Linked DNA regions of Homo sapiens: all the other regions are linked to region 2. Evidence: promoter capture Hi-C in 16 types of primary human blood cells and fetal thymus (Javierre and others, 2016). All regions are on one chromosome and are shown on one strand. Each heading gives the region's core, a stretch centred on a gene start or on the middle of the fragment in contact. The rest is flanking DNA. Distances are from core to core; before and after follow the strand shown. Region 1 has its middle 40 kb from the start of SNX12. Region 2 holds the start of ITGB1BP2 (integrin subunit beta 1 binding protein 2). Region 3 has its middle 68 kb from the start of SLC7A3. Region 4 holds the start of GCNA (germ cell nuclear acidic peptidase).

Evidence for each region. The method cuts DNA at HindIII sites, captures the fragments that hold promoters and counts their contacts. A CHiCAGO score of 5 or more calls a contact.
Region 1: a fragment that was not itself captured here is called in contact with the fragment with the promoter of ITGB1BP2 in region 2 in 3 of 17 cell types (naive B cells, total CD8 T cells and naive CD4 T cells); the score reaches 6.5 in naive B cells.
Region 3: a fragment that was not itself captured here is called in contact with the fragment with the promoter of ITGB1BP2 in region 2 in 3 of 17 cell types (naive B cells, total B cells and naive CD4 T cells); the score reaches 6.2 in naive B cells.
Region 4: a contact is called between the fragment with the promoter of GCNA here and the fragment with the promoter of ITGB1BP2 in region 2, in 3 of 17 cell types (activated CD4 T cells, erythroblasts and naive B cells). The highest score is 7.9, in activated CD4 T cells.

The regions. Positions count from the first base shown.
Region 1 is chrX:71,026,224-71,031,415 of GRCh38, forward strand. No RefSeq gene overlaps it. Among named protein-coding and RNA genes, the nearest start is that of SNX12, 40 kb to the right of the region's middle. The HindIII fragment of the contact is 3,365 bases long and covers 1,031-4,395 here.
Region 2 is chrX:71,300,500-71,306,139 of GRCh38, forward strand. It overlaps ITGB1BP2 (integrin subunit beta 1 binding protein 2), which reads left to right and starts at 1,251. Exons shown (of 11, transcript NM_012278.4): 1 at 1,251-1,371; 2 at 1,638-1,687; 3 at 1,778-1,834; 4 at 1,912-2,057; 5 at 2,763-2,857; 6 at 2,962-3,017; 7 at 3,128-3,198; 8 at 3,313-3,412; 9 at 3,688-3,801; 10 at 4,043-4,105; 11 at 4,466-4,872. The coding sequence starts at 1,308. The coding sequence ends at 4,693. It overlaps NONO (non-POU domain containing octamer binding), which reads left to right. Exons shown (of 12, transcript NM_007363.5): 12 at 1-669. RefSeq lists an enhancer at 3,049-4,248. The HindIII fragment of the contact is 1,925 bases long and covers 18-1,942 here.
Region 3 is chrX:70,996,226-71,001,553 of GRCh38, forward strand. No RefSeq gene overlaps it. Among named protein-coding and RNA genes, the nearest start is that of SLC7A3, 68 kb to the left of the region's middle. The HindIII fragment of the contact is 397 bases long and covers 3,533-3,929 here.
Region 4 is chrX:71,575,923-71,581,365 of GRCh38, forward strand. It overlaps GCNA (germ cell nuclear acidic peptidase), which reads left to right and starts at 2,515. Exons shown (of 13, transcript NM_052957.5): 1 at 2,515-2,600; 2 at 4,898-4,958. The coding sequence starts at 4,900. RefSeq lists an enhancer at 2,722-3,363. The HindIII fragment of the contact is 6,206 bases long and covers 1-5,443 here.

The DNA of each region.
Region 1 (5,192 bases), core at 1,463-3,962, 270 kb before region 2:
CCAAAAAAAAAAAAAAAAAAAAAAAAGTAATTAACCAGGAGCCGTGGCATGTACCTGTAGTCCTAGCTACTTGGGAGGCTGAGTCAGGATAATCACTTGAGACCAGGAGTTCAAGGCTGCAGTGAGCTATGATTATGCCACTGCACTCCAGCCTGGGCAACAAAGTAAGACCCTATCTCAAAGGGAAAAAAAATAAATGGAAATAGCTTAAATCTGTAGTGAAATTAAACATTAAGAATCAATGCCAGCCGGGTGAGGTGGCTCACGCCTGTAATCCCAACACTTTGGGAGGCCGAGGCAGGCAGATCTCCTGAGGTCAGGAGTTTGAGACCATCCTGGCTAACATGGTGAAACCCCGTCTCTACTAAAAAGACCAAAAAGTAGCCAGGTGTGGTGGCAGGCACCTGTAGTCCCAGCTACTCGGGAGGCTGAGGCAGGAGAATGGCATGAACCTGGGAGGCAGAGCTTGCAGTGAGCTGAGATCACACCACTGCACTCCAGCCTAGGCAACAGAGCGACATTCAGCCTCAAAAAAAGAAAAAAAAAATTAGCCGGGCGTGGTGGTGAGCGCCTGTAATCCCAGCTACTAGGGAGGCTAAAGCAGGAGAATTGCTTGAATTCGGGAGGCAGAGGTTGCAGTGAGCTGAGATCGTGCCATTGCACTCCAGGCTGGGCAACAAAGCGAGACTCTGTCTCAAAAAAAAAAAAAAAAAAAAAAAAAAAAAAAGAACCAATGCCGTCAAATTCTAAAAGTCCTTGAAATTACTCTGCAGATCCCTTCACATCACCATAAGTATCCATCTACCTCTTCTTCCTCTAATTAAGATTGCTTTTCTCTCAAGTACTGGTACTCAAGTTAAACTTTAAAAACTGTTTTCTTTCATTTCATAACTAATATTACAAAAATATTTTATATTTGTTATTGCTATGTGTAATATTTTATTGACCCTGTGGATTAAGCAAGTTTTTATCTGCTATTCTGGAAACATAACCACTACTTATAAATGGTTTCTCTGACAAAATTGTCCAAAGCTTCAAATCACTAATTTAAATACTTAAATTTTTAAAAATACACAAAAAAATATGCACAAAGAAAAATTCACAAAAGAAACATTTATTCTACTCATCATGTACAAATGGTTATTTTAGGATACCAAAAAGACCTAGTTGGTAAGGGAAAATTATTTACAGAAGAATTTCAGTTAATAGTTGTAGAAGAAGCTGGGCGAGGTGGCTCACACCTCTAATACCAGCACTTTGGGAGGCTGAAGCAGGAGGGTCGCTTGAGCCCAGGAGTTCCAAGTTACAATGAGCCATGATCGTGCCACTGCACTCCAGCTTGGATGACGGAGCAAGACCCTGACTCAAAAAAAAAATAGTGTAGAAGGAATGACAGAACTAGGAAAATCACCATTTGGAATACCCTTATGAAACTAATAATTCAGATAATGATCATCAGTGGATGCTAAGACAATGAGGATGCCTTTCTAACAATGAGGGTAGATGAGAAAGGCAATAAGGACTTTTAAAATAGAAAGATTAAGCTGTCCACAATCTGTACACACTGCTCAGCCATAGTATCACTAAAAGTGGACCAACCAGACATTGGGGTAGCATGTATGAGGGCTTGGATTCAAGAGAAAGAGAGCATGGCATATACCGATCATTGAAAATGGAATTTAGAATTGCTGAGGTACAGAGTGTGAGATGAGGAGTGGTGATAAATGAAGCTGATGCAGGAGCCAGATGTAGGGCCTTGTAAGTCACTTAAAGAATTTTGAATTTTCTCTTAAGGGGACTGGGAAGTCACTGAAGGGTTTTTGTTTTAGAATATATTCTCTGGCTATAGTGTGGGACATGATTTGAGGGTAAAATAAGAGTGGGGGCAAGTAGATGAATTAGGAGACAGTTGCAATAAAGTTTGAGATGACAGTGACCTGGACCAGGGTAGTGGCATTAGGAAAAAAGGTGAAGTATATGGATCCAGTGAATATTTAGCAAATAAACCTGAAAGGATTTGGTGGTAAAATAGAGAGAGGATGGTGTGAAGGTTTTAGACTTGGGGAACTGGGTTGATAGTGCCATTCACTGACATAAGAAACACAAGAGGAGGAGTGGGCTTAGGCTGAGAGGGTGGGGAAGGAAGTAGCTTAGTATGGGAAATAGTGAATTTGCGATGACTATGGAGCATGAAAATAGGCAGATGGCTACCCGGGGTCTGAAGCTCAGAAAAGAGGTCTGGATTGAACATACATTTGTGTGAAGTCAGTGTATAATAAGCAGCTGAAGCCAAGAGAATGGATAAGATGAGCCTAGTCAAAAACAGCAAAGCGGGCAGGCACAGTAGCTCATGCCTGTAATCCCAGCACTTTGGGAGGCCAAGGCAGGCAGATCACTTGAGGTCAGAAGTTTGAGACTAGACTGGCCAATGTGGTGAAACCCCATCTCTACTAAAAATACAAAAATTAGCCAGGTATGGTGGCACGCGCCTGTAATTCCAGCTACTCAGGAGGCTGAGGCACGAGAATCACGCCACTGCACTCCAGCCTGGGTGACAGAGCGAGACCCTGTCTCAAAAAAAAAAAAAAGCAAAGTATAACATGTGACCCTGGAGCCCCATATCTTTTACCTCAAGTAACTTCACACCAGTGGCAGAAGAGAAACCAGATCACAGTGAATTGAAGAGTGGGAGGTGAGGAAAAATAAGGTGAATGAAGGGGAAGAAAGAGAGATGACAGGAACTGAAAGAGGATATGAATTTGTATAGCACCCATTTATGCTGTCCAATTAACCCTTTGCTATATATACTGTCTTATATTATAATATGAATATATGGTATCATCCCCTTCAAAAAATGCCTCACATGCATGTCTAGTCTTCCCAGTAAAATGAAAGCTCCTCATGGAGCTTTTTTAAAATGTCTTTAGGCTGGGCACAGTGGCTCACGCCTTCAGTCCCAGCACTTTAGGAGGCCGAGGCAGGTGGATTGCTTGAGTCCAGGAATTCGAGAGCAGCGTGAGCAACGTGGTAAAATCCCATCTCTATAAAAAATAGAAAAAAATCAGGCAGGTATGGTGGTGCTCACCTGTGGTCCCAGCTATTCGGGAGGCTGAGGTGGGAGGATCACTTGAGCCTGGGAAGTGGAGGTTGCAGTGAGCCAAGATTGTGCCACAGCACTCCAGCCTGGGTGACAGAGTGAGACCCTGTCTCAACAAAAAGAAAAAAAGAAAAAAAAAGTCTTTGAATCCTGTATCCCCCACTGTACATACAGAAGTCAGAGAGCTGTTTGAGATCAGGAGGCTTAGTTGCTGACTATACAAGAACAACCTCCTAGGTAGGCAATATCTTTGTACAAGGTAGTTACTCCAGTGAGGCAGGCAGACAAATTCAGCAGACCAGTCTATATATTAAAAGGTTGATTTGTGAGCACATTTTTTTTTAAAAAGGGAAAAAATGTTTTTTAAAAAAAACAGAAAACAAACAAAAATAAATAAAACAAACGGAGTTTATATCCACAAAGGATATATTAACATCAGATTATATAAGCCTGATAAACTATCTTTCTTGACTCAAGATATTTTTATAAAAAGCCTGACTAACCAGAATTGGGGACAAGAAGTTTAGTGAGAAGAAACTTACTCTTAGCTGTAATGTTTAAATATTTTTATAAGGAGAATGTACTCACATGTTACCTATGTAATTAAACAACAACCGGAAAAAAAAAACCGAAAAGGCTAAAGAAATAAAATGTTATTCTTCCCCTTTCCAGGCTCCTTGCAGATAACCAGGCTTTACCCTTCTATTCATAGATCACTATTTCAGATGGCCAATTTATAAGGCAGTTGAGTAAGTTAGGATTTCTTTACATTATTACATTTCATTCTCTTTTTCCTGAGGCCATATACTCTGGTCTTTGATGGAAACCTAAAAAACATTCCAGTCTCATTAAAAGAAAACCTAGCTCTCTCAGGGTAGATTAATTCTGCAGATGTATGCCTTCAGATAGCTGTTTTTATCCATTTTGTTTCATTTTACTTCATTTTCAGACAGTGACCTTTTCCCATCCTTACTTGCAAATTCTGAGAGCCCCTTTCTATAAGGCACCTTTCCTCCTTTTTAAATAATGTGCAGGAGCACTTGTTGACAGATAGAGCATTAAAAGAAACGGACACATTAATAGGTTTTATCAGTAAGATTTTAGAAGTCTGAACTAGATAACCTCTGTTCCTTACATTTGATGAAGATTCTGATTAAGGTAGAATAGCCTTGGCTGCCTCAAACATTTCTCTTTGCCTCTGGCACCAAGGAGGACACAGACCAAGCCACACCAGGACGATCTCCACTCAAGAATAGCACGTTTGGACTGTGTGAAAGGTCCCCATTTTACAATAAACAAGCTTCCCTATAACTTTGAAACACTAATCCCAGGAAAACACTAGAAATTGGTTCAAGGTAGTATTGTGACAGGTCTGTTGGGTCAGATCCTATATACAACAGCAGGTGAAAGTAGATGAACAGTAGCAATCCCTTATTTGATGGATTGATTTCAACATAGGAAAGGTGTCTAGTCAGGCTGCAAATATTTGAGCTCCGCTCTGCCTTTTTTGATATTTTAAGATAGTCATTTGTATGAAGACACTTAGTGGCATACTAATCAAATTTGCAGATGATAAACTGGAAAAGAAGCTAGTACAACTGGATGACATTCAGGAGTCAAAAGAAGTTTGACAAGCAGGAATGATAAGCTAAATTTCTTAGGCTGAAAAGACAGAGATCAAATTAAAGCCTCATACTAGGTCCTAAAACATAAGCATTTAAGTACCAAATGGATAAATATAGTTGAGTTTTTAGTCTTAGTGATTTCAACTAACTATAGGCTCAACATAATTCAACAGAGTGATCAATGTGGCTGTCAAAAAAAAAAAAAACAAGAAAAGAAAAGAAAAAAAAGCTAACAATTTTGGCCTGCATGAGTAGTAGCATAGGGTCTAGAACAAAGAAAATCACTAACCCACTCTTCTGTACTGATCAGAACATGTACCTGAAATAGTACATTTCATTCTAGATGCCAATCTTTAAAGAGAGATATTCATGAGCTGAAGTATGAACAGAACAGAATAACCAGAATGATGAGGAGATCTTCAAACTCTGCCATGAGAGTAATGGCAGTAAAGGAACTGCAGATGTTTAGC
Region 2 (5,640 bases), core at 1-2,500:
TCTGCCTCCCGGGTTCAAGCTTGTCCAGGTTGATCTTGAACTCCTGACCTCGTGATCTACCCACCTCGGCCTCCCAAAATGCTGGGATTACAGGGGTGAGCCACCGTGCCCAACCTCACTTGCTTCTTATCCTTACACTCCCCCAGCCCCAGAGAAACTGCCACATACACCACAAAAACCAAACATCCCCCAATGACCTTAGCCCCATTGCTCCATTCACTCCCAGGTGAGAATTCAGGCAAACGTCCACAAAGGTCACAGGCAGCGTACATACGGTTCTGTTATACCCCATATATTACCCCTTCATGTCCTAAAGAAGACATTTTCTCTTAGAGATTTTCATTTTAGTGTATCTTTAAAAAAAAATCTTGTGTTAACTTGCCTCCATCTTTTTCTTGGGTGAGGACACCCAGGAATGACCCTTTTGTGTCTATGATGTTGCTGTTCACAGCTTTTCTTGATAGGCCTAGTACAATCTTGGGAACAGGGTTACTGTATACTGAAGGTCTGACAGTAGCTCTTAGACTCGCCTATCTTAGGTAGTCATGCTGTGCATTTTTTTTTTCATTGGTGTACTGTGTTTGATTTGTCTCATATATTTGGAGTTTTTCTGAAAAATGGAGCAGTAATGCAGCATCAACCTATTAAAATACATTTTAAGCCTTTTAATTTTCTGTGGTGTTTTTGAAGGGGAAAGGAGGGAGGGGAGTTATCTTAGGAGATGAGCAGTAGACTCTATAAAGGTAATCCTTTATGACCTTTGGATTACAGTATTGATCTAGACAAACATGGGGAGGAGGTGGGGATGAGGTGCATCAAATGGCTGGAGGGGTTGGCAAGGATTAGCGCTATTGATACTACATGGAAGTAATGATGGAGGAAAGCTGCCCCTCTGAAAGAGGAAGAAAATGGGCTTAATCCTCATCGAGCTGGGGGCGCGGGGGGGGTCTCAAAATTGGTATTTGTTTCTTAGCAGCTGCTGCTGTGTCCAAGGCTTGGAATTGCTGTGGTGAATCTAAAACTGTCTCAGTAGTGGTGAGCTGACCTCACCCAAGTTCAAAGCCCTACTCTGCCTGATCCTTTTTTCCTGAGCCTCAGAGCTAAAATGCCCCCGAGCTCTTTCCTATTGGCTGGAAAGACGAATTGAAGTTCCCTTGCCCATGTTAGGAGGTGTACGCCTCCTGAACTAAAGATAGAAACAGCTGGCCCTTCCAGGCAGCTAAAAGCCTCCAGACTAAGAGGTGTTCCCCATTCGGCAGCCAGACTCCTTGAAATACCCTTTCAGTAATCATTCAACCAACGCTTCCATGTCTCTACTCTGTCGTAACAAAGGCTGTGGGCAGCACTTTGACCCTAATACCAACCTTCCTGGTGAGTAAAGAATCCTGACCTGGCCAGGGGCTCTGTGTGGGTGTTGGGGACTGGTCAGCTGGGGGGCAGTGTGTTTGAGGAGCGGGGAAAGAAACTACCTGCCCTAGTTTAATTGGTCTGAGTGATCTTACAGCCTTTGCTGGCTTTTTTTTTTTTCTTCACATTATATGGGAAGAAACCATAAATAGAAACCCGGGGAAGAGGTGAAAAATGATACTTGGTATAGTTATCTTCCCTTCCTTGATAACTTCTACTGATGTCCACAGATTCCTGTTGCCATCACCCTGGGGTCCCAATCTTCCATGATGCACTTAAGGTGAGGAGTAGGTGAGGGGGGTTAGCAAGAGCATTTCCCAGAAGAGATAATACCCAGGAAGCTAAGCTGATCTGGGTCTCTTGTTATCAGGGTTGGTCCTGCTGCCGAAAGCGAACTGTAGATTTCTCTGAGTTCTTAAACATCAAGGTAAATTATTTATGTACTTGGATTCTGCCCCCAATAGAAGGATTCTATCCCTAATCCTATCTCCTTATCTATACTAGGGCTGTACTATGGGACCACACTGTGCTGAGAAGCTTCCTGAGGCCCCTCAACCTGAAGGCCCTGCTACAAGCAGTTCACTTCAGGAGCAAAAACCTCTGAATGTGATTCCAAAGTCAGCAGAGACCTTGCGCCGGGAGAGGCCCAAGTAAAGAGGAGGAGGCCCCTGGACTTTTCTTATTTTCATGTAGCTTCCTAGGAGTGATTAATGGGTCATTGAGGACTGGGAACTAGGGACCAGGGATGTGAGGAGGGCCAGATGTCAGGGTTTGGATGGTGTATATCCTGTGCCTTAGGGGAAATTTGTGTCTGGAAATAACGCCCTTTCCTCTAAGGTGGTGTGGGATGATGGGATAGATACCTGAATCAACAGAGTAGATAGCCCCTCACAAATACATCCTTAGTGTATAACACAAAAGGGATTGTTGAGAATGACTTCTCTTTCTAGAAAAGAACTTTAAGATAAATCTCATATCAAGAAAAGGATGTATTGTATTATTGGCAGCCAGGAGACTTCCCAAATTTTGTGGGAATAATAAGAGCAACAGAAGGAAGTCATATTAGGTCCACGATTAGATAAAGAGGAAGAGGATATGACTCAGTTCTGCAGAGAAAAGTGGTTAGGTTTAGAGCAACTGAGTAGATGGGTAAGAGAAGTGCTGGGGATTTCTCTAGGGTTCAGGTATTTGGGATGTCCACAGAGATGAAAATTGGCAATGGGGTTGCTACCCAACCTCTCCAACTCTGCCTCACTTTCACCAGGCTTCTTTAATTCCATTACCATCGGTGGGAGTGTTGGAGCTAGCAATCATAGCTAATGGGTCAGAACTAAATCACCACCCTTAACCCCTAGGTCAGAGTTGCCTCTGAAGCTGCTGCCGCTAAATATATCCCAAGCCCTGGAAATGGCATTGGAACAGAAGGAATTAGACCAGGAACCTGGGGCAGGTAGGTGGGTCTTTAGTAGGATCAACTTCATAGACTGGAATTTAGTGGAAGTGGCAATTGAGTGGGGGGATGGATAAGTTCCTGACTCTGTTTCCCTTGCCCAGGACTTGACAGTCTGATCCGGACTGGTTCCAGCTGCCAGAACCCAGGATGTGATGCTGTGAGTGAGAGTTTTGAGGGGCTCAAGCATATGGCTGAGGGATGACTGGGTATAGATAGGCTGAGTAGGATATACCTTAGAATGACCTGGTTCTACTTTATCCTTCTTAGGTTTACCAAGGCCCTGAGAGTGATGCTACTCCATGTACCTACCACCCAGGAGCACCCCGATTCCATGAGGGGTGAGGGAGGGGACTGGGTGGGCTATGAGGCTATGAGACAGGTTTCTCCTAATATTTGGTCATAAGATAATATTGGGGGTGAGAGAATTCAGTTGAATTATCTTCCTACTTCAGGATGAAGTCTTGGAGCTGTTGTGGCATCCAGACCCTGGATTTTGGGGCATTCTTGGCACAACCAGGGTGCAGAGTCGGTAGACATGACTGGGGGAAGCAGGTAAGCCCCAGCTTTCCTGAACTCTTGATTAGAACCCAATCTCAGAGGTAAATTCTCCTCCCTCTCTGTACCACATAGCCAAGCTCCCTGTCTTCTCCCTTTAGTATAGACCAAATAAGATTCTGCTCCTTATCCCTCAACAGCCCAGAGGTTTTGCAATATGAGGTTGTGTTAATCTTTTTGAGACTCTCTGTCTCTTCTCCACGTGCATCATGAGAACTCCCCTTCAGTTAAGAATTTATTCTTACCACCTGCATTTCACATCTTCTCTTTAGCTCCCAGCATCTTGCCGCCATGATTGGCACCAGACAGATTCCTTAGTAGTGGTGACTGTATATGGCCAGATTCCACTTCCTGCGTTTAACTGGGTGAAGGCCAGTCAAACTGAGGTGAGCAATGATCTGATGTTGGATGGGAGGATAGTCAATTGGGTGATACTACAATCTCACAGGCAGAGTTGCCATTTGCTGTTAACCTGTAGGCTCCATAGTACCCTTAGAGGAAAGGAGAGTTATTAGGTCAGGGCTGTCTGGCCAACCTGTGGATCATACCTCTGACCTGGTTATCTGTCGTAATGACCTATTCTGACCTTCTGGGTTTGTTACTACCCCTGTAATTCTTTTCTCTCAGCTTCATGTCCACATTGTCTTTGATGGTAACCGTGTGTTCCAAGCACAGATGAAGCTCTGGGGGGTAAGTGAAGACCAGGGGACACAAGAGTGGGAGGCAGATGGGTGAAAGAGCGGCTAGACTGGAATAGAGGGTGTCTTGAGGGAAGGAGTTGTACTAGGAAAATGGAGGTTTTCTCTTCATTTGCTTTCATTTTCTCTCTCTCTCCTACTCTTCCTATTTCCCTCTTTCCCTCCCCTCTTCCTTCTCCCTTTTCATCTCTCATTTCTTTCCTCTCTCTCCCTTATTGTCTTATTCCTCCCTTACCTTTTTTCTTACCTTATTAAAAATTTCTCTCTCTCATTTGTCACCACTCCACCCTGACCCCAATGCCTTTGATTTCCTCATTCTCTCTTTCTTCTGTTTTCCTTTGCTCCTCCTCAGGTCATAAACGTGGAGCAGAGCTCTGTCTTCTTGATGCCATCTCGGGTTGAAATCTCCCTGGTCAAGGCTGACCCAGGATCCTGGGCCCAGCTGGAGCACCCTGATGCACTAGCTAAGAAGGCTAGGGCAGGGGTTGTGTTAGAGATGGATGAGGAAGAATCTGACGATTCAGATGATGATCTGAGCTGGACAGAGGAGGAGGAAGAGGAGGAAGCAATGGGGGAATAGTGACACCAGACAGTTGATGTCTAGATAGGACCTCAATGATTCCCTTAGAATCTTAGATACCAGGATATTGTTGGCCATGTGGCATCATTGAGCAGCAGGAGGCTGAAGGAGGGGAGAACAAAATTGTCCAAACCATGCTGTTTTTTTCCCTTAAATAAATCTTGTATTCTTCAGTTTCACATAGTGTCATTCTCTCACCTCACTATCTAAGATTGTATTTATTACCCCCAACTGTGTGTTCAACACACATTGTGAAAACAAGCACATGCACATTCAATCTATTCCTCATAAACACCAGGTATTTACTGAGTACTCCCTATGTGCCCAGTTATGTGTTAGGTGGTTTAGAAATATCTGAGAAACAGAAGACTTACTCATTTCTCTCAACAAAGTAACAACCTGGCTGACAAGTCAAGACCAATCTACATGAAATAATAATAAACATTATCAGGTAGTTTAACTGAGTGCCAAATTGTGCAGTACAGTTTTTAAGAGCTGTAGTTGAAAGAATGGAAAAGTTAATGTGGACAGTAGCAAAAGGGAAGACTCCGTGGTGGAAGAAGTCCTTTTTTTTTTTTTTTTTTTTTTTTTAGACGGAGTCTTGCTTTGTCGCCCAGGCTGGAGTGCAGTGGTGCGATCTCGGCTCACTGCATCCTCTGCCTCCTGGGTTCAAGCGATTCTCCTGCCGAGTAGCTAAAACTACAGGCGCTTGCCACCATGCCCAGCTAATTTGAAATACAGTTTATTTTTTTCTTTGGTTGCTTATGCTTTTGATGTCATATCTAAGAAACCATTACCTAATCCAAGGTCATGAACATTTGTCCCTACCTTTTCTTCTTTTTTTTTTTTCTTTTTTTTTTGAGACGGAGTCTTGCTCTGTTGCGCAGGCTGGAGTGCAGTGGCGCAATCTTGGCTCACTGCAAGCTCCACCTCCGAGGTTCACGCCA
Region 3 (5,328 bases), core at 2,481-4,980, 300 kb before region 2:
TATTTAAAATTGTTATATCCTCTTGCTGAATTTATCATTATATAATGACCTTCTTTGTCTCTTTATATATAATGACCTTCTTTGTCTCTTTATATATATTTATATTTATATTATATAATGACCTTCTTTGTCTCTTTATAGTTTTTGTCTTGAAATCTATTTTGTCTGACAGAAGTACAGCTACTCCTTCTCCTTTTTTATTTCCATTGGCATGGAATATCTTTTTCCATCCCTTTATTTTCAGTCTATGTGTGTCTTTATAGGGGAAGTGTGCTTCTTGTAGGCAACAGATCATTGGGTCTTGCTTTTTTTTTATCCATTCAGCCACTCTGTGTCTTTTGATTGGAGAGTTGAGTCCATTTACATTCAATGTTATTATTAAACTGATGACAACTTAACACTAATTGCATGAACAAACAAGGTAACTAACAAACAAGCAAAGAGAAAACTAATAAAAACTCTACACTTTAACCTCATCCTCCAGCCTTATAACTTTTTGTTGTTTCTATTTATATTTTATTGTACTGTTTATGTCTTGAAAAGTTGTCATAGTTATTATTTTTGATCGGTTCATCTTTTAGTCTTTCTACTCAAGATATGAGTATTTATGCATTGCAATTACAATGTTATAATATTTTGTGTTTTTCTGTGTACTTACTGTTACCCGTGAGTTTTGTATTATACCTTCAGATGATTTCTTATTCCTCATTAGTATCCTTTTCTTTCAGACTGAAGAACTCCCTTTAGCATTTCTTGTAAGATAAGTCTGGTTTTGATGAAATCCCTCAGCTTTTGTTTGTCTGGAAAAGTCTTTATTTCTCCTTCATGTTTGAAGGATATTTTTGCCAGATGTACTATTTTAGGGTAAAAGTTTTTTCCTTCAGCACTTTAAATATGTCACGCCACTCTCTCCTGGCCTGTAAGGTTTCCACTGAAAAGTCTGCTGCTGGATATATTGGAGCTCCATTGTATGTTTTTTTTTCTTTCTTTTCTCTTGCTGCTTTTGGTATCTTTTATTTTTATTTTATTATTATTATTTTTTGAGGCAGAGGCTCCCTCTGTCACCCAGACAGAGGGAGTGCAGTGGCACAGTCTCAGCTCACTGCAACCTCCACCTCCCAGGTTCTAGCAATTCTCATGCTTCAGCCTCCTGAATAGCTGGGACTGCAGGGGGAGGGCACCATGCCTGGCTAATATTTTTTTTAATTTTTAGTAGAGACAGGGTTTCACCATGTTAGCCAGGCTGGTCTCGAACTCCTGGCCTCAAGTGACCCACCCACCTTGGCCTCCCAGAGTGTTGGGATTACAGGCATGAGCCACTGTGCCCAGCCTGGATCCTTTCTTATTCTTGACCTTCGGAAGTTTGATTATTAAATCATAGTCTTATTTCAGTTCAATCTACTTGCTGTTCTATAACTCTCTTGAATTCAAGTATTGATAACTTTCTCTAGGTTTGGGAAGTTCTCTGTTATTGTCCCTTTAAATAAACTTTCCACCCCTATCTCTCTCTCCCATCTCTTTATGGCCAATAACTCTTAGACTTGCCCTTTTGAGGCTATTTTCTAGATCTTGTAAGAGTGCTTCATTCTTTTTTATTATTTTTTCTTTGGTCTCCTCTGACTGTGGGTTTTTTTTTCCAAGGTCTTGCTCTTTCACCCAGGCTGTCGTGCAGTGGCACAATCATAGCTCATTGCAGCCTTGAACTCCTAGATTCAAGTGATCCTCCTGCCTCAGCCTCCTGAGTAGCTAAGACTACAGGCACACATGCCACCATACCCAGCTAATTAAAAAAAAATTTTTTATAGAAATGATGCCTTGTTATGTTGCCCAGGCTGGTCTTAAACTCCTGGGCTCAAGTGATCCTCCTGCTTCAGCCTCCCGAAGTGCTGGGATTACAGACATAAGCTACTATGCCTGGCCATGTATTTTCAAATGGCCTGTCTTCAAGCTCATTAATTCTTTCTTCTGCTTGATCAATTCTGCAATTAAGAAACTCTGATTCATTCTTCAGTGTGTCAATTACATTTTTTAACACCAGAATTTCTGCTTGATACTTTTTAATTATTTAAATCTCTGTGTTAAATTTATCTGATAGGATTCTGAATTCCTTATCTGTGTTATCTTGAATTTTCTTGAGTTTCTTCAAAACAGCTATTTCAAATTCTCTGTCCGAAAGATCACATATCTCTGTCTCTCCAGGCTTGGTCCTTGGTGCCTTATTTAGTTCATTTGGGAAGATCATGTTTTCCTAAATGGTCTTCGTGCTTGTGCATGTTCGTCAGTGTCTAAGTATTGAAATGTTAGGTGTTTAGTAGTCTTTGTAGTCTGGGCTTGTTCATACCCGTCCTTCTTGGGAAACTTTCCAGGTATTCGAAGGGACTTTGGGTGTTGTGATCTAAGTTTTTGGTCACTGTAGTCACATCTACGTTAGGGGGCACCCCAAGCTCAGTAACACTGTGGCTCTTGCAGACTCATTGAGGTACTGCCTTGGTGGTCTTGGATCAGATCCGAAAGAATTCTCTGGATTACCAGACAGAAACTTTTTTTCTCTGCCCTTACTTTTACCCAAACAAACAGAGTCTCTCTCTCTCTCTCTCTTCTCTCTCTCTCTCTCTCTCTCTCTCTGTCTCTGTGCCGAGATGCCTGCAGCTGAGGGAGGGCAGAAATGCTTTTTTAAGTTACCACCCAGTTCTAAAGTTGCACTTTGATTAACTTGGTTATTTCCTATGTTTTCATTAGCAACACAGTTGTAAACCACTTCTCCACATAGTTAATCTCATCTCTTAAATGACAGTTATTATTAAAATTTCAATGAGTAATTCTTTTTCTGAGTTCTTAGTTTCCTATATACTTATTACAGCATTAATCATGTTACCTGACAATACCTACTCACTAATCAATTCCCAGTGAGAATTGTTAGACACTTATATCCAGTAGCAAGAAAGAAAAAAATTAAAATCCTTAAGACAAATAGTTAGGGATATGCTTTCAAATCTGGGATGTACAGTAATTGAAAGTGTGAGCCTCCTTGGCAACTCCCAGAGGACATACATTAACAGTAATCAATCCACTGTGTGGCTTGTTACATAAGTACTATAGAAGCCTTGGGAACATTTGGAATCTGACAGAAGCCTTATGGAAGTGGTTCCATGGGGGTTGGCTATTTGCATATTTTCCTCCTATTACAGATAAGGGAAAAAAGACTGAAAGAATATATACCAAAATGTTAATATTGATTATTCCTGGGGAGTAGGGCTGCCAGTTTTCTTTTATTTTTTATCTGTATTATCTAAAATTTCTAAAATAAATATAACTATTATAAGAAAATTCCAAATAATAAAAGTCCAAAAAGATGGTTTGTTTTAACAGTAAGTAAGCTGAGTTGCATTTTCTACCATCTGTTTCAGTCAGGGAAATGAATAACATCTTCTAGGGCAAAGTAACAGGGTAAATGGAGACCCAGAGAAAGACTGATTGTTCTCTATGATAAGCATTCTCTAGAACATAAAAGGAAGTAATGAACAGGACTCCAAGCTTTGTTCTTTTGTGTCTCACTCCCTCTCGATTCTTCTCTGGCTTTGTTCCACACTCTGAACATCCTAAATCAACTTACAAGTGGTGGTCACCAAAAGAATCTACAAGGAAGATTGTCTCTCTAGACTCTGATTCCATCAAATATCCCCTTTCTCTTCTATTTTCCACATTTTCTTATATACCTACAGACAGGCTTAACGTTTCCCCATTCTAAAACAAAGTTAAAACACTATTTCTCCCCTATCTCGTTACAAACTACCATCCTTTCTACCTCCTTCCTTTCATAGCCAGATTTCTGGAACAATTAATCTACAACCACTGTCCTTTCGCCCTGTCCATTTGTTCAATTTGCTGCAGTCTGCCTTCTGCCGTGACTCCAACAAACTTTAAAGGAAAGCTTCCTAGTTGCTGAACTTATTGGCCCATATTTATACAGCCTAAGGCGATTGGTTGCTCTTATTTCCCAGAAGTTCTTCTTGGCCTCTGGGAAGAAAGGAGTGAAATGGGAAGAAATGACACTACTGTCTCTTCATTTTTTTTTCTTACCTTTCCCTTTCAGACTTCCCTCTTCTGTTCAACACTTATTCATTGGGATTCCCTAGGGTTATGTCCTAGTCTCTTATCTTCTTACACCACCTGGAACAAAGTTTATCTACTTACACAGCTTCAACTATCATCTATACAATGACAGATTGCAAAATTTTTTTTACAGTTAAATCTAAGTTGCTTTATTCTTTTTTTTTTTTATATATATACTTTAAGTTTTAGGGTACATGTGCACAATGTGCAGGTTAGTTACATATGTATACATGTGCCATGCTGGTGTGCTGCACCCATTAACTCGTCATTTAACATTAGGTATATCTCCTAATGCTATCCCTCCCCTCTCCCCCGACCCCACAACAGTCCCCAGAGTGTGATGTTCCCCTTCCTGTGTCCATGTGTTCTCATTGTTCAATTCCCATCTATGAGTGAGAACATGCAGTGTTTGGTTTTTTGTCCTTGCGATAGTTTACTGAGAATGATGATTTCCAATTTCATCCATGGAAATTTTTAATAATAGCCTCGAACTCTTGCTTAAGCTCTAGATTTGTATTTCCAAATTACAATTAAGCATCTTTACCTACAGGTTACAAAGAGGTACCCTAAGCTCCACTAGTCTAAAATCAGACTTACCTTCTCTACTGCCACAATTTACTAAATTCTTGAATTACATTCTCATTCACAATCGCAAGCCATGTTCCTAAGCTAGAAGCTTTTGCTTTTGCCTTAATTATCCCTTCTCCCTAACGCTGCACATCTAATCAATCAGCATACAGTCCTGTTGATTTTAACTCATAAATATCATTCTGTCAAGCCTAGCCTTTCCCCCATACTGCCTCGATCTTGGTTCAGACTCTCATAATGTCCAGCTTGGACTATTACGTCTGCTAAGTAGTCCTGCCACCAATCTCTCTCCATTCTACACCTGTTCAACTTCCACACTACTTTCGAAATGATCTTTACAAAACAAAACTCACTCTTTTGACTCCTCGGTGCCTACAGGATAAAACACAACTCCTTGGTCTAGCATGTTAGGATTCAGTCCAGGTTGTTAGCCTCACGCTCTACTCCACCCCCAAACTCCTGCATGCTAAGCTTCTCACCATTCCACAAACACAGCAGGCCCTATAATGTCTCCATGTCTTCACACATTGTATCCTGTCCTCTTAGAATGTCCTTTTCTTTCTTCCTCACCTGACAATGTCCTACTCATCCTTTAGTATGTGTCTTCTTGGGAAAGACAAACTAGCT
Region 4 (5,443 bases), core at 1,265-3,764, 280 kb after region 2:
TTGAGTGTTGGACTGAAGAATAGTGTCATCCAATGATGAAACCTATATTTAAACACCTCCAAACAGCATGAAAGGACCAAATTTCCCTACTGTAGCTATGATATTAGGAATTGTTTTCTCAGCCAGGTCTGGTAGAGGGTGGGGTTAGTTTATGATCCATTAAGAAGGCAAAGTGGCCTTGTGTGGTGGCTCACGCCTGTAACCCCAGCACTTTGGGAGGCGGAGGCAGGTGGATCACTTGAGGTCAGGAGTTCAAGACCAGCCTGGCTAACATGGTGAAACCCTGTCTCTACTAAAAATACAAAAAAACTAGCCGGGAGTGGTGGCACACGCTTGTAATCCCAACTACATGCGAGGCTGAGACAGGAGAATCGCTTGAACCCGGGAGGCAGAGGTTGCAGTGAGCTGAGATCGTGCCATTGCATTCCAGCCTGGACAACAGAGTGAGATGTCATCTCAAAAAAAAAAAAAGACAAAGCCTGTGATCCCCAACACACCCATTCATGCTTGCTCCTCTTTTGCTTGTGACCTCTCTGCTTTCATTTACCCTTGTAGTCTCGGTTTTCATGTGGACCATTCTTTTCTTGGCTCTTGGGGGCAAAATTATTTTCCTTCCTGCTCTGTATAGTGGTCGAACTCTGCCACAAGCATCAGGGAGGAAGATATCAATTCATGATTGATATCATGAATTGATATCATGGCAAATGCTGTTTGCCAGTTTTCTCAGATATGAGAGGGAAGATTTTTTTCAGTAAAATTTTGCATGATTTAATTCCCAACTTCTTAAAGCCCTCATGTGGATTGGTGTTTGTTTCCTAAAAGATTATTATGGGAAGAAAGCCTACTCAAAAGTTTTTACTCCCATTCGCTTCTCTTGAAAAATCTACATTATTTCCAGTCTACTTCAGCTCCTCCTGCCTTCAATCTAAAGGAGTTGCTTGCACACCTTGAGTAAATGTGTGTAATTTCTGAACTGCCCATTTTAAGATTTGATTCCAAACCTATCCCATTCTTTTACTTGAAGCATATGCCTCTCAATTATAGCTAACATCCTGGTTCTTTGCCCAAGCCTCTGAGGCACAGTTATGTAATCCCCATTCTTATAAAGAGGCTTGTAGAGGTTAATTTGCAACTTCATTGTAGAGAGAGAGAGTAATCAGCCCCCTTTATCCAATTTTTTTATCAACTGAGAAAGTATCTGTATTTAGGTAGGCAATCTGGTGCTTAAGAGCAGGTTTTGGAACTAGAGTTGGAGTTTGAATCTCAGCTCTGCCACTTTTTTTTTTTTTTTTGAGATGGAGTCTCGCCCTGTCCCCATGCTGGAGTGCAATGGCACGATCTCGGCTCACTGCAACCTCCGCCTCCCAGGTTCCAGCGATTCTCCTGCCTCAGCCTCCCGAGTAGCTGGGATTACAGGCGCGGGCCACCACACGCGGCTATTTTTTTTTTTTTATCTTTAGTAGAGACGGGGTTTCACCATGTTGACCAGGCTGGTCTCAAGCTCCTGACTTCGTGATCCACCCGCCTCAGCCTCCCAAAGTGCTGGGGTTACAGGCGTGAGCCACTGTGCCCGGCCAGCTCTGCCACTTTCTAGCTGTGTGATCTCTAAAATGAGAGTGCTAACAGTTGCCTACTTTTTAAAGTGTTGTATGAATTAAGTCGTAAGACACTTGGAATAATGCTTAGCACAAAATAGTATCAAACGCAGGGACATTTTATGTGTGTTCTGTTACCCAAAGGCATACATTACGAAATATATAGATGCTCGCTGGAGAAACTGGCACAATCTAGAAAGCGCTGTTTTCCCCGTTTGTTTTTCTTGGTGTGTATGGAGTGAGTGCCAAAAAGCCTCAAGTAACCTTTTTTTATCTCCAGGGTTTGGAGGGTTCTGGAAGTAAACATCATAGTTCGCCGTTGCCAGGCGCTGTTGAGTTGCTGCCTTGCTCTTATCTAGGGGTCTAGATGGCCTTCCCTGCAACCCCCGCCCCCCTGCGCTCCCGCGTCCCCCCGCGCCCCGCCCTCCCCTCGGTGTTCCCGTCCACGCCCCTGCTCCCGCGCCTTCGCTCCAGTTCTCGTGCCCCCGCCCCTCCCCCCGCGCCCTTTCCCAGTGGTTGCAATAACGGACTTAGAGGTCTGGACAATTCAAGTAAGGAACAAGGCTCGCTTATCCAAGTTCTCGCAGGATAAAAGTTTGTTATGAACGATTTCACATGGTTTCTCTTTATCAGAAAGTTGTTAGGGACTTTTAATCGCAGAATTGGCCTCGGGTGCCCACGCTCTAGTATTGAAATGGCGGTTTTGGGACAAATAAGCAACATCCGTGGGAGTGGAAAGCGACAGACCTGATCCCGGAAGCGTTACAGCTAGGCGCCAAGTTCACAGGCGCGAAGTTCAAATTTGTCTTGTGACCACTGTGATAGGTGGGTACAGGGGAGCGCGGGCGAGCACACGTGAATTACTGCTACCGCCCCCTAGGTCCGGGCACTATAAAGGGGCCTGCGCCTGGCGTTGTTCATCGCAGTTGCTCCGGATCTTTGCACACACTCCACGGGCAGTTGGAGGTGAGCTGCTGCCGGCCACGCCAGAGGCTGCAACACCAGGTAGGTGACCGGCTGGTCGGACTGAGATGGGTGCTGAAGTGGTCCAGAGGTTAATCCTAATTGAGTGACTTAATTAAAATCAGGACCACTGTATACCTTGGACTCTGGTTGCCCGTGTAGGCCTGAGGTGGGAGTAGAGGAAGTGGCAGCGAGGGGAGAAGTGGAGGCGCCAGTGGTAGCATTGGGGGAGGTGGGGGCGCCCATGGTGGTGTAGGAAACATATGGTGGCGCCAGTGGCGGCATTGGGAGGGGTGGGGGCGCCGGTGGCGGCGTAGGAGCAGCTGGTAGTGCCAGTGGCGGCGTGGGGAGAAGGGGCGCTGGTGGCGTCATTGCAGATAGTGGGGGGCCTGGTGGTGGCGTAGAAGGAGGTGTTGGTGCCAGTGGCGGGTGGAGAGAAGTAGGGGCACCAGTGGCGGCGTTGGGGGAAGTGGGGGTGCCTGTGGCAGTGTCGGGGAAGTGGGGGTGCTGGTGGTGGTGTAGGAGCATGTGGTAGCACCAGTGACGGTGTGGGGAGAAGTAGGGGCACCATTGGCGGCCTTGGGGGAAGTGGGAGCGCTGGTGGTGGCGTAGGAGCGTGTGGTGGCGCCAGTGGCTATGTAGGAATACGTGGCGCCGGTGGCGGCGCGGGGAGAAGTGAGGGCGCTGGTTGCGGCACTGGGGGGAGGTGGGGGCCCCAGTGGTGGTGTAGGAACAGGTGGTGTCCCTAGTGGCGGGTGGGGAGAAGTAGGGATGCCAGTGGCAGCGTGGGGGGAGGTGGGGGTGCCAGTTGCGGCCTAGGAGTACTTGGTGGCGTTGGTGGCATAGGAGCACATAGTAGCGCTGGCGGTGTGGGGAGAAGTGGAGGCGCCGGTGGCCGCATTGAAGGTGGGGGTGCCAATGGGGGCGTTGAGGGAAGTGGGGGGTTCTGGTGGCGGCGTAGGAACACTTGGTGGTGGTGGAAGTGGCCTAGGAGCACGTGGTGGTGCTGGTGGGCGTGGGGAGAAGTGAGGATGCTGGTGGTGGCATTGGAGGTGGGGGTGCCAGTGGCTGTGGGGAGAAGTGGGGGTGCCCGTTGCAGCATTGGGGGGAGGTGGGAGCTAGTGGTTGTGGGTAGGGGTGTGTGTGTGGGGGTTGAGGTCTCTTTGGCTGAGGACTGAGTGGTGGTGGGAGACAGGAGTGGGGTAGGGCAGAAGTTGGATAGAAGTGTGGGGGAGTGGAAGCCTGCTTGGAAAACCGGTTGGGAGCAGTTGAAGGTGGCTGGAGGTGGTTGGAGGTGCGAGTGTGGGGGAAGGGTGGTGGGGTTGAGGCCTGATTGGTGGAAGACTGAGGTGAGAATGGTGGGGGTAGGGTCCAGACCTGATAGGAGGAAGGAGTTGGGGAGGGGTCAAGGCCTGTTTGGTCGAAGATTGGCTAGAGGCTGGAGGCAGGAATAGGAAGCGTGGAGGGGGTGGCCGGATTCATATAAGACCAGTGAGAAGCCAGAGTGGCGGGAGGTAAGGGGGCAGTGGAGGTTGGACAGAAGGAAGAAGGTGATGAGGGGGCGGTGGTAGCCTATTCTGGGTAAGATTGACAGAGTGGGGAGTAAAGAGGTAGGGGAAGGGGGAGAGGTTGACACCCGGTAGGTGGGAGACTTCCTTGGGGCAGGAGTAGGGGGACTGAAGGTTGTAGGGAGGTGGAGGGCCAGTGGGATGTGGGGGCGGTCGAGCCCTGATACGTGGAAGACTGGCAAGTTGAGGTGGGAGTGGAGGGAGTGGGAAGTGGGGGCGGGTGCAGGGTGGGAAGAGATTGGGGTGGTAGAGGCCTGAGTGGGAAAAGTTTGCAACAAAACAAATTTAAATCCTTTTCATTTTGCAGAGCAAAGTTTCGGCTTTAAGGTGGGGAAGATACCCAAAGATAAATGCAGAATGTAAATGTAGAGATGTCTCTGCTTTTGAGTTCTGGCTTTCTTTTTTTTTTCTTTTTATTTTATTTTCTTTTTCTTTTTCTTTTTTGAGATGGAGTCTAGCTCTGTGGCCCAGGCTGGAGTGCAGTGGCACAATCTCGGCTCACTGCAAGCTCTGCCTCCCGGGTTCACGCCATTTTCCTGCCTCAGCCTCTCGAGTAGCTGGGACTACAGGCGCCCGCCACCACGCCTGGCTAATTTTTTGTATTTTTAATAGAGATAGGGTTTCACCGTGTTAGCCAGGATGGTCTCGATCTCATGACATTGTGATCTGCCCGCCTCGGCCTCCCAAAGTGCTGGGATTATAGGCGTGAGCCACTGCGCCCGGCCGAGTTCTGGCTTTCTTAAGAAAGTGTATCTTTGTCTTTCACTACAGACATGGATGGGTGCAAAAAAGAGCTGCCCCGCTTGCAAGAGCCGGAGGAGGACGAGGATTGGTGAGATTTAGAAAGTTCTGTTTTCTTTTAGTTTAGTGTTACCGTATTGGCAAAACAGCTTTCTCGAGAAGTATGTTTATTTCCTTTAGTATCTGTAGAGCGTATAACTTGGTTTGTTATAAAATGAGAATTGTAAAGAAGGATTTTACAAACTAGGAGTCCAGCCTCCTATGAAATTCTTGAATCCGCTATATAATTTCTTTGTTAGTGGCCAGGAAATGACGACATTTGAGGCAACAGTGCATCGTTGAATATATGTGGTTTCTAGAAAGTTCTTCATTCTGATGCAATTAAAACCTGTTGTTCCACGCCAGTATCGATAGTGCTGCCTCTAGAGGTACACAAGTATTTTTCTTCTCCATGATAACACAAGGTGTTTTTGTTTTAAATTTTTTTATGGAGATGCGCCCTGAACCAATAAAGGTTCAGAGAACTTCCAACATGAGGTATTTTTTTTGTGCGTGTGAGAGACAGGGTCTGCTCTG